Linked DNA regions of Homo sapiens: all the other regions are linked to region 3. Evidence: promoter capture Hi-C in 16 types of primary human blood cells and fetal thymus (Javierre and others, 2016). All regions are on one chromosome and are shown on one strand. Each heading gives the region's core, a stretch centred on a gene start or on the middle of the fragment in contact. The rest is flanking DNA. Distances are from core to core; before and after follow the strand shown. Region 1 overlaps SLC12A2 (solute carrier family 12 member 2). Region 2 overlaps SLC12A2-DT (SLC12A2 divergent transcript). Region 3 holds the start of PRRC1 (proline rich coiled-coil 1).

Evidence for each region. Contacts are between HindIII fragments. The CHiCAGO score rates a contact against its expected background, and 5 or more counts as called.
Region 1: a fragment that was not itself captured here is called in contact with the fragment with the promoter of PRRC1 in region 3 in 1 of 17 cell types (total B cells); the score reaches 7.2 in total B cells.
Region 2: a contact is called between a fragment that was not itself captured here and the fragment with the promoter of PRRC1 in region 3, in 6 of 17 cell types (non-activated CD4 T cells, fetal thymus, total B cells and 3 more). The highest score is 6.2, in non-activated CD4 T cells.

Annotation. Positions count from the first base shown.
Region 1 is chr5:128,173,650-128,177,607 of GRCh38, forward strand. SLC12A2 (solute carrier family 12 member 2) reads left to right here. Exons shown (of 27, transcript NM_001046.3): 20 at 892-1,017; 21 at 3,456-3,503. Among named protein-coding and RNA genes, the nearest start is that of SLC12A2, 92 kb to the left of the region's middle. The HindIII fragment of the contact is 203 bases long and covers 2,577-2,779 here.
Region 2 is chr5:128,077,925-128,082,262 of GRCh38, forward strand. The region is part of intron 1 of SLC12A2-DT (SLC12A2 divergent transcript); the gene reads right to left. Among named protein-coding and RNA genes, the nearest start is that of SLC12A2-DT, 3.1 kb to the right of the region's middle. The HindIII fragment of the contact is 1,526 bases long and covers 706-2,231 here.
Region 3 is chr5:127,516,289-127,520,005 of GRCh38, forward strand. PRRC1 (proline rich coiled-coil 1) reads left to right here and starts at 1,352. Exons shown (of 9, transcript NM_130809.5): 1 at 1,352-1,488. RefSeq lists a silencer at 1,220-1,289 and an enhancer at 1,350-1,529. The HindIII fragment of the contact is 4,735 bases long and covers 1-2,008 here.

The DNA of each region.
Region 1 (3,958 bases), core at 1,428-3,927, 660 kb after region 3:
TATCTGTTAAAATGTATTTACCTTACAGGTTGGTTGTTAAGATTAAAAAGAAGATTAAGGCCTGCGAGCTCTTAGCATAGTGCTGGCATGTAGCTTCTTTTGTTTCTCTTCATTTACGCAAATAAGTGATGAGGATTATGGACATACTATCAATTTTATATTATATTTGTCTTTGTGATACATGTTTGTATGGTGGAAACTAAATCTTTACTAACTCTGACAAAGAGAAAATGAAGAAAAACTACTTTAAAATGGAGAAATGGTACTTTCACCATGAACTTAGGAAGACTCCATTTGGTGGTCTTGGTTTTATAGAGTGGGTAGAGTTTTTCAGTGTTGTCTGTCATCTTACGTATCTATGGACAGTTGTTACATTTTACATTTTTTATGTAATTGATTTAGAGAGAATTGATTCACATACTATGTATTACTGTCTACCAGATTCTACTGTCCTATGACTTGTACTCATTACTGATTCTCCAGCTCGTAATTCAAATACAGTTTGTGTATCTATATCCAAAATGCTTGGAACCTGAAGAGTTTCAGAATTTGGACGGGGAGAGGTTGATTTTGGAATATTTGCATTACATAGTACTTACCAGTTGAGCATCTCTGATCCAGAAATCCCAAATCTGAAATGCTCCATTGAGCATCATGTTAGGCATGTAAAAAGTTTCAGACTTTCAGATCAGGATATTCAACCTGTAACCTAGTTGTGGTTTATGTATTTAAATGAATAGTCATTTCAAACAGATTATCATAGTTGTTTAAATAAGAAGCCATTTATAATAAACTTATTTTTTCATAATAGTTTAATTACTAAACCATAATGCCTTATTTAACAGTTAAAATATGACTTAGATACTATTTTAAATAATTTTCTGTCTACAGAAGAATTATTGTCATCACAAGAGAAATCTCCTGGCACCAAGGATGTGGTAGTAAGTGTGGAATATAGTAAAAAGTCCGATTTAGATACTTCCAAACCACTCAGTGAAAAACCAATTACACACAAAGGTAATTTTCATTCAAACAATAAGTCTTATTAATAGTAATGTTTTAATTTGGGAGAAATATTTTTAATTATATAATATGTCTTATAAAAATAACCTGTTCTCAAACTTGTACTGGTCATTTCTAGCTGGTCAGGTAAAATTTATGGCTTTCAAAAATGGCTACAAAATGACTAGCTGTGTAAGGTATTAGAGTAGATCATCAAACAGAAACCATGCTAGTTATTTACTAATATGGCTTCTGTGTTTTTATTTATAGTTGCTTTAAATAAAACATTTTAATTTGAAGCATAAGTTAAATCTGAATTTGGAAAGAACATGGTAATTTTAAAGTAACAAACTCATGACTTTCACATAATTTCATCCACAAATCTGTGTCATGTTTGAGAAGAAAAGAGGGATGACTTCCAAATCTTACTCTCCCACCCTCACTCTCCTACCTCTGTTCAGTCTAGTATCTCCATCTGTCCTATTCCCAGCTGACACGCAACAAGAAAATAATCTGCGCTGTGAATCATCAAACTGTAACATACTTTTGATTCCTGCAAAATATTTCCCATTCTTTTTCTGAAATTGTAACCTTGGACCAATCATGTCTCTGTACAGTTTATCTCTTCTATATTATTTAGAAGCAGTAATGTTGCTTTTTATTTCTTTCCTTCTCATTTACCTTGTTGGCTTAGAGTATTAGTAAAGTTTAGTTCACACCCATTTTCCTTTTCAGTTCTTTGCTGACTTGATTATAATTTATTTTGTTTTTCCTCAAAATTCTATAAACTGATTCTGATAACTGTTCCTATATTCCAGCATTTATTTTAGTTTACACTATACATTCTTTCATTTCCTCTTTTTTGTTTTTTTCTTTTGCTTCAAACATTCTTTTTCTACAGAATCTGTTGGGAATTAATAGGTGAAGTTTAATGGGAGGGTAAGAAGAAATACATATCAAGCATCTACTCCGTGCACCCAACATTATAATGGATGTTACCCATACATTAGCTAATTAATATATGTTACGATCTTATGAAATCATTATTTTTATAGAACAGGAAACTGGGTCAGTACATTTCTACTTACCTTTTTATTGTAAAAATCTAAATGCCTTTAACTTACTTTATAATTGTTAAATGTCAAGATTTCCTTGACATTTCTGAGATCTTTTAAACAAATGCAGCATATCCGTAGTTATAATTTTTATTATCAAAGACAAATGCCATTAAATGTCTGCTTTATAAGAACAATATTGAATGCTATAATATTAAATCTAATGATTCTTTTTCCATTACAAGTTTAAGAAATTAGTGTTTGCTTTATTTTGTGTTTATTTTCTGTTTAGTCAGTTATTCTCAGTCAACAGTGTAGATACTATAGAAACGTTTATACATTTTAAAAAGTCTTCAGAATTAGAGACATTAGTGTGTAGTTGTTATAAATCCACAGTATTTAGCTGTGTCTATCTTGGTTATTGAAGCATACATCATGCAAGAAGTCAAAAAGAACACCCTTCAAATACTTTCTGCCAGGCCCAGAGTTCAGTGCATTAATACTTGCATTAGTATAACAAGCTTAAGAGGTAGGTACTAATACCTCTTTCGACAAATGAGAAAAGCAAGTTCAGTAATGAAAGTTTACTCAGCTGTTTTAACTCCTGGGAATATAAATGTAGAGGTAAGATTGCAATCTTGCAGCCTAACTCCAGAGCCCACTGTAGTATACTCTTTCCTAAGTCCAGAGTTTTATATGCCATAAACAAATATTTTAATACAAGCTTGTATTAAGGGAACAAAATGAGATTAGGAAAATTGTTAATGCCAGATATATTTGTAGATATTTTTAAATATAAATGGATAAATATTAATGCACACGTATATACATACATATATAAATTTATATATGTGAGAAAAATCACTCCTGTATAACCTGGCATTTTATATAAAGCAAAATACTTATGTCTCTGATCAAATTTCTTAATATTTCAAGTGTGATTAATTTTTTACAAACAACAAATATCCATTAAATGTTTCTAAAATTGCTGTTCAGTTATTTGCACAGTGATGGCATGTTTAAAATTTATGTATTATCTGCAATATCAATGTTTAATGTCATATTTATACCTATAAGCCACAGTTCAACATCTTCTCAACTTATTTCAAGTATGAAAGTGTAAACATTTTAAAAATATGCTGAAATTTAAAAAGTAATTTTACAGAAATTAAATTTAGGGGTGTTAGTCATCCTGTAGGGGAGGGGTCTCAAATATGTTTGCTTTTTAAAAGCTTCAACACTCAGTGCAGAAAATATTAATCTTCAGTCTTGATTATTTTTCAGTGGACTGCTGCTTCATATTATATTTTGTTTATAAATGTGCTCTGATTACATTTTTATTATTTTATTAATATAAAGGCAATTAACATATTTTTGTGTTTTTTAAACATAATCTAGTTGAGGAAGAGGATGGCAAGACTGCAACTCAACCACTGTTGAAAAAAGGCAGGCATTTTTCATCATTTTATTTTAAACCCTTTTTCATACTGTAAACTCTTTAACTCCAACCTTATTCCCTTTTTTTTAACCTTGGTTTTTATTTCCATGGTGAGGTAATGTTACAGTTCTATAAATGCAGATTAGAAAAATTATTATTAGTCTAACTAAAAAGTTAAATATTCTCAGGAAATGGAGTTATATCACAAATTCTTTTCTATTATCACAGCATTTCTGAAATATTAGACCCAGACAGCCGGTATTAATTTTTTTTAATTTAAACTGCATGGTTTAGATGATAAGTAGGGACACTGAAATAGGTTTTATTTGCAGTGTCACTTGCATTCTTTACCATCAGTTGTACCCAGCCAAGTCCTCAATTTTGATACTAATGTATTTTTCATTTCAAAAATTACAATATTTCTCACAGTCGTGCTGCGTTTGGGAGATACACAGTCATGTCA
Region 2 (4,338 bases), core at 219-2,718, 560 kb after region 3:
TTTTCTAATACAGATTTTAAATTGGAAAAGATTTCTTTGAATAGCTTTACAACAAACATGTGTAGACAAAAGTAGGGATAAGAAAGAAAGACTGTTTTTTAAATGCATTTGTCATGAATTTACTACCTGGGTAAGCAAAAAACTTGAGCTGTCTCTTTTGAAAGACATAATTTACAAATATGAATTTATATATTGTCTAGAGGAAAAGCACAGTACAATTTCAATTAATGTTTAATTCTATGACTGACTAAAATCTTTATAATATTTTTAATTAAAGAAGAAGGTGACCGGGACTTAGGTAAGAAAGCAAAATTATAACATTTACTACATAACAAGTTTTTTGTTTTTTTTTTTACATAAACAAGCTTTGTTTCTTACAAAAAAAAACAAGCTTCTTCTTTTTTTTTTTTTTTTGGATACAGAGTCTCACTCTGTCGCACAGGCTACAGCATAGTGCCGCAGTCTCGGCTCAATGAGGCCTCTGCCTCCCGGGTTCAAGCAATTCTCATGCCTCAGCCTCCCTAGTAGCTGGGATTACAGACATGCACCACTACACCCAACTAATTTTTGTATTTTTAGTAGAGACAGGGTTTCCCCATGTTGGCCAGGCTGGTCTCGAACTCCTGGCCTCATCTGATCCGCCTGCCTCGGCCTCCCAAAGTGCTGGGATTATAGGCATGAGCTACTGTGCTAGGCCTATAAAAAAGCTTCTTTAGGGTAACTTTTTTCTTTTTTCTGTAACAGAATAATCACATTATTTCTCAAGGGAAATACCATTTACTCAATTTGTACTCTGAATGCCATCTAATAAAACAGCAAAGCCACAACCATGCAGAATGTCAGCACAGCATGTCTAACTAAAACTCACTGTAAGAAAAAAAAGGAAAAGAGAGCTGATTTCAAAGGTTCTACATGGCTTTGCACTTCACATGCTCTGATGCTGCAGATATGAGAAGTTGTAGGTCTAACATAATTTATATCTTCTTTTAGGATACTTTGGCATTTGTGAATTGAGAAGTTTGGAAAACAACTACGCAAGTCACTTCTAATCCTAAAATTCCAACTACATGAAATAAATATTAGTAAGTACTCAGACACACACAATGTCAAAGGCTGGCCTTGTGGCAAAAAGGAAATACAGCAAAATCAGTCAGGTTCCCACCACGGCACTGATAGCAAGTCTGTTCTCAAGGTTAGTCTCTAAACTGACACCTGGTAAGTCTGACAATGAAATATTTGCCAACAATTAAGTAAAGGAGATCTCTCCTGATAAATTTTTCATAAGTTTCACATAATACACTTTGATATTTCCTGGAATGTTTGTGGCCCTCCCCTCACTGCATTGCTCTCTCATTTTGTTGGCTAATACATGTTACTAAAGTCAATATATATTCAACTCATTTTTCTCTGCCTCTTGGCCCAATTTAACACAGCTGATCCTGTTTTCAAATGCCTTCATCTGATTTTCTTCTCACCTCCTGACCTTTGTAGGTCTTTTATGTGCTCATTAATGTTGGAATTACTTATTTTTTCCTTAACCAAGTTTTTCATCTGTAAAATGGATGTAATCTTATGATTTTCTTCATAGTGTTGCGAGAATTCAGTAAGATTATGAATGTATAGATTTTGGCACAGTATCCAGGACCTAAATTCTCTATAAAGGCTAACTACTATTACTACTATCAACTCACAGCTAGATTAGTGAAATTGTGTCCTGACTTTCCATGCTTATTCTTCCTCTTCTCCACTCTTCTGCTCATAATATAACTAGTTTTATTTTTATTTATTTATTTTTTGAGACAGTGTCTCACTCTGTCGCCCAGGCTGGGTGCTGTGGCACAATCATAGCTCACTACAACCCCCACCTCAAGTGATCCTCCCACCTCAGCCTCCCAGGGAGCTGGGAATACAGGTGCGTGCCACCACGCCCCACTAATTTTTGAATTTTTGTGGGTTTTTTTGGTAGAGATGGGGTTTCATTATTGTTGTCCAGGCTGGTCTCGAATTCCTGAGCTCAAGCCATATACCCGCCTTGGCCTCCCAAGTGCTGGGATTACAGGTGTGAGCCACCTTGCCAGGCCTAGAGAGTTTTAATAAGCACAAATCTGATTATGTGCCCCTCAATCTATCCAGAAACCCATTAATGCTTTTATAGGGCTTTTAGAATACAGACACATCTCTTACTACTTTTGCCCCCAATCCTTCCCTATGCTTTAACCAAACTGATTTCAAGCTTCTTGCTTCTTTGATAGTCCCTGCTCACTCCATGAGGGCATTTGTCCACAATATTTCCCTTGTTGGAAACCCTCTAGTGACAATTTGGTCCTAATTTTCCTTTAGACCTTTGCTAAAAAGTCACTTCTGTCTTGACTAAGTCTGGCCTATTTTGCATTTTCCTTATACTACGTTCCTATCCCCTAGAACTTCTGTTTGCAGTTACAAATTTATATGAGTGACTACTATTTATTATTAATACACATTTGTGTGTTTCTTCCAACAGACATCTCAGACTAAGCTCCTGATATTCATCCAACCCAAACCTGTTCCTTTAACCTCCTTTGCCATCTCAGAAAATAGCAATACTATTCTTCCAGTTGCTGAGGTCAAAACCCTTGGACTCTCACACTTCACATCCATCAGCAAATTCTATTGTTTCCCCAGAATTCAACTACTTTTCCCCATTTCCACTGATACCCACTGTGGTCAAAGCGCTATCATCACTTCCTGGATTGCTGTAATACCTCTTAACACATCTCCTTGCTTCTTTGACCCAACCATTTATCCCTTGCCTACCTACAAGACAGCTAGATGAATCCTTTAAAAATGGCAGATGTCATTCCTCCACTGAAACCTTCCAATAACCTGCCATCTGCCAAGGACTGTTGTGTACCCTGCTAAATTAATATGTTGAAGCCCGAATCCTCTCCTCACTCCTATGTGACTGTATTGGAGACAGTCCTTTTAAGGAGATAATTAAGGTTAAATGAGGTGATCAGGGTAAAGCCCTGATTCCACAGAACTGGTGCCCTTATAAGAAAAGAGACAACGCTCTCTTTATCATCTGAGGAGACATTGAGAAGGTACTGTCTGCAAGCCAAAAAGAAAACCCGAACATGATCATGCTGGCATTCTGATCTCAGACTTCCAGCAGGCAGAACTGTGAGAAAATATATTTCTACTGTTTGAGCCACCCAATCTATGTATTTTGTTATGGCAGCCTGAGCTGACTAACACACTATTCTACTAAAAAAGTCAAGTATGTCTAACAGCCAAAAAAGGTCCTAAACATTCTGATCTACTACATCCCATATCCTAAGCTCTCTGATGTAATTGCCTTTGATTCTTCACATCTCTTAAGCAAGTTCCAGCCAAACTGGCTTACATGCAATTCCGTGAGCATGCTAAGCATGCTCCTGCCTTTGGGTCTTTGGTTTCCCTCTGCTTCAGACACTTTTTTTCCCAAGAACTCATATCACTCACTTCCTTACTCAAATATCACCTTCTCAGTGAGGCCATCCTATGGAAAATTTTATGATCCTCATTTCACACAAATATCCCATTTCCCTTTCCTTAGTACTCACTGCTTGGATGCTATGTATTTTACCTATTTATCTTGTCTATTGTTTCTCTTTCTCACTAGAAAGAACTCCATGAGAGATGGGATTGTCCGTTTTGCTCACTGCTATATCCCGTAAATACAGAGTAGCTCATAGTACCTGTTCAGTATTTATTCAACTAAATGAATGTTGAATTCCAATAGTGGCAGAATTCGTTGTGGAGCTGAAAGGTACTGCACGGATCAACTACTAATGCAGCAATTCCCTAGTAGAAAACTGCACTGCTTAAAGGACCACCTCATTTTTCTGGCCTCCTCTGGTTATTACTAAAGCTCAAAAGGAGCTTTAAAAATCCTGATGCAACAGCTGTTTTCCCCTCTCACCGTCTTTAAAAATAGAGATAATAAAATAGCCTGAAAAGTTGTCAAGTTCAAGTAAGATCATGTTTATGACAATTTTTTGAAAATTGCCTGGTTGCAGCTTTTACTTACAGCATTTTCAAACAGTTCTGCCAACTCTGTGGCTCTTTCATCATGTTTCAAGTGTTCAGCAAACGATGGTGTTCGTCTCCATAAAGTCAAAGTTTAAAAATACAAGGGCCGGGCGCGGTGGCTCATGCCTGTAATCCCAGCACTTGGAGAGGCGGAGGTGGGCGGATCACGAGGTCAGGAGATCGAGACCATCCTGGCTAACACGGTGAAACCCCGACTCTACTAAAAATACAAAAAATTAGCAGGGCGTGATGGCGGGCGCCTGTAGTCCCAACTACTCAGGAGGCTGA
Region 3 (3,717 bases), core at 102-2,601:
TAACTTTTCAGTGAGGTATTTTGGAATGCTTACAACTGTGAAGCTCAAGAGATAGATTAATGTGAAATCTCTAAGTGAGTTCCTGAAAAAAAATTGAGAACAACAAAAACAATTTTTTATATATTTAATGCTAAGCAATTTAAAAAATGTTTTCGGACAGGTGCGGTGGCTCACGCCTGTAATCCCAGCACTTTAGGAGGCCGAGGCGGGCCGAGGTCAGGAGTTCGAGACCAGCCTGGCCAAAATGGTGAAACCCTGTCTCTACTAAAAGTACAAAAATTAGCTGGGTGTGGTGGCCTGTGCCTGTAATCCCAGCTACTCGGGAGGCTGAGGCAGGAGAATCGTTTGAACCCGGGAGGCAGAGGTTGCAGTGAGCCGAGATGGCGCCATTGCACTCCAGCCTGGGCAACAGGGCAAGACACCATCTCAAAAAGACAAAAAGTTTAAAAAATTTTCATATGCTCTATTTTATTTGAGTCTGTCACCTGCCTGATTTAGGGATGGTGGATAGTATTATTCTCAGTTTGCAGGTAGAAATATGAAGACTTATGGAGACTAAGTGACCTGTACAAGGGCAGGCAACTGTACAACTGGCATTAGAGTAGTCTCAGACTCAAATCAAGACTTCTGATTTGAAGTTCCTTATTTTCCTCTATCGCACTCCATTAATTTATTTAATGTACATTATTGAACACCAACTATTTCAGGTACTGTGTTAGGTGCAGCATATAATAAGAAAGTTGATAATCTGTCTATTTTACAATTAAAAAAAGAATGTGCAATACATGCACTTGGGGAAAAATTCAGTACAGTAACTGCTACTCTTCTCCCCTCTCCCTCTTCTCCTAATCCCTCTCTCCTGATATAATCACTGTTATCTGGAAATCTTTGACTATACAGGCTAAGTCCCCTGTATCTGCCGCGAGGTCCTTCCTGGAGGTGCTGACTGGACTAGCTGATGTTGGCTAGATGACCGCCAACCAGATGACCTTGGCTAACTGATCTTATCCCTTGGGCCGCTGTGGCACAGGATGAGTGAGCTACGCCTGGTAACAAGAGTGCCACTCTCGTGTAAGGGGGCTGCGAAGTAGAAAGGAGGCCAGCCCTTTGGAAGATGTTTCTAGAGGGTGTGGGCAGAACCAAGTCTCGGTAGTTAGGAAGATCTTGGCTCCAAAGTTTAACTTGCAGCGTCCCGGCCGGGTTCACAGCGCATGGGACAGGGGGGGCGGGGCGATGCGGAGGCGGAGCGGGGCGATGCGATGCGGGGCGGAGCGGGGCGGGGCGGCGACGCGCGGCGCGGTGCGGCGCGCGGCCGACGTGGCAGCCGCAGGAGCATGCGCCGCCCGTGGCCATCTTGTAGGCGGGGACACGCCGAGGTAACTTCCAGGGTGCGCCTTCGTTGTCTTCTCCAAGCTGTAGTTCTACGTCCCGACCTCCCTATCATACCACACTCTTCAGCGACCACGCAGGCACTTTCCCGGTCCCCAGGTGAGCGCCAGGTGGCTCCGAGGGGCGTGTATGAGGGGGGTGGCATGGCATGGCATGGCTTGCAGGCGCCAGAGCCAGACCCCGAGGGACGGTGTCCCTGGAAGGTGGGCGGGCCGGCCGGCGCCACTGGACGCCGATGTCGTTTGCGAGCCCCCTAGTCCCGTGGTCCAGGCTCAGCTGTGGCGGCGTGCGGGGTGCAGCAGGCAGGAGTGCACATCGCAAGGTGAGCAGTTTCCGCTGGGGATGGCACGGTGGGCGCGGTTCGAGGGTCTCGCCCCGCGACACTTTGCTCCTGTCCAAGGACCAAGGCAGGAGCGCTCTGGCCCCACCTTCCAGGGCGCTGACTTTAGGGGAGACTGGCGGGAGCGCCGGCGGACCTTAGCCCGGCCCTGTCTGGCCTGGAGACGTGGCAGAGCCTGAGGGGAAGCCGCTGTCTCCTGAAACAGGATTTCGGCCGCTCTGGCCCTGGAGAGGCCCAGGAGGCTCGAGAGTCATCACACCAGGACCTGCAATGAAAGGAAGCTTATTTTCCCTGAGGTTACCCCATCGGTGCTTAGCGCCGCTTGGGAGAGTTTTTGCATTCTCTCGTTTCTTTGTTTGGTCTTGGGACCTGCTTCAGGCAAATTTGCAGATAGCACGTTTCCTAGATTGACAGAATTTATAGCCAATAGTGTTTTTGTCATTCGAAGTAGTTATTTTGAGAGACAACATGTGCATTTCTGCGATCGTGACACATCTTGGCATTCAGTCTTTCTCCTGTGCAGCCAGTGTTTAATTCAGTGAAAATTTATAAAATTTTATTTCGGGGTCAGATTAGGCTCTAACTAGCGCTCACTGTTTGGTAGTAGAGACAATCTTGTGGCACGAGTAGGTCAGCAATAATTGCTCTTAATGCTTTAAAGTTTATCAGAGCTTCACTCTTCCATTTCTTGTAAACTTGTAAATAGACATCCACTTTTTTTTTTTTTTTTTAACAGAAAAACCAAGGCACAAGCAAATTGGAACAACAGGGTCTAGCCGGACTGAGAACTCAGTTTTCCAAACCATTTTCTTCACTTTTTCTTTAGTGTTGATATATGAATAGTACTTTTCGTGACAAGACTTGAGCCCTAAAACAGTTACCAACTCTGACACTTCAGTATTGTTTTATCATAATAGGTTTTTTTAGTAGAAGGCACTATGTTTATGCATGTAAAATTTACCTCAGTATTGCCATTACGGCAGTTTTCATATAAAAAGCCATTAAAGACAAAGAAATTGATTATTTATTCCACTTAATGACTTTGTATTCATTGTACAGTTTCTTTTGCAGACACATTTGTTAATGTTAGGGATTCTCTTACAATAGGACTTCTACTAGTCATTGTAAGGATTGGGGAGCATCTGTAGTAGAGGGTGAATGACCAATAAAAAATTAAATGAAGAAAAGAGGGAGCTTTGGTTGAGGAGTGGTAAAATCTCCAAAGGGGCATTTCTATCTCAGGTTATTTACCTTCGATGTATAGGTACTGAATGAAAGGATTCAGCCTCCCCGGATCCCTGTTCTCTGCTTAGTGCCATAGATCTTTCCTACGTTCACAGCCAAACTTTTTGAAAGTGTCATGCGTGTTAGTCTCACCTGCCACTGCTCGATTCAGTTTACACTGGAATCTTTCTCCACTCTTTATATGAAAACCGTTCTCCCTAAATTCATCTCCAGTTTGGCAGATCCATTGAACTTCTCAGATAGTATCCTATTTGGCTTCTCTGCAGCATTAATACTGTTGCCCATTCATACTGCGAAACTCTGGCTTTTGGACACCACAGTCTCCTGGTTTTCTTCCTTTCTTTTAGCTCATCTCTTATTCTCTGCAAACTTGTCTTCCATCTTACTAAACCAATAATTGGTTTAACATCATATTCTCTTTTCTCTTGGTATTCTCTTACGTAATCTCATCTCAAAACATGACGTTAGACTATCAGTACACTGATGACACCCACATTTATGTGGTTGCTAAGCTCCAGACCAAGTCAGTGTCTCTACTTAGATGTTTGTTTCAAGGAACTTAAACAGCATGTCAAAGACTAAACATTTTATGATTTCCCCCATCCGACTCCCCCAGAAAGAACATCAAACACATTGGCCTTCTGCAGTGTTTCCTATCTTTGTGCATGGCACCACCATCTATCTAGTTGTGCAAGTCATGCCTCCTTTCCCTTCCTCCATACCCAGTCACTGAATTTTGCCAC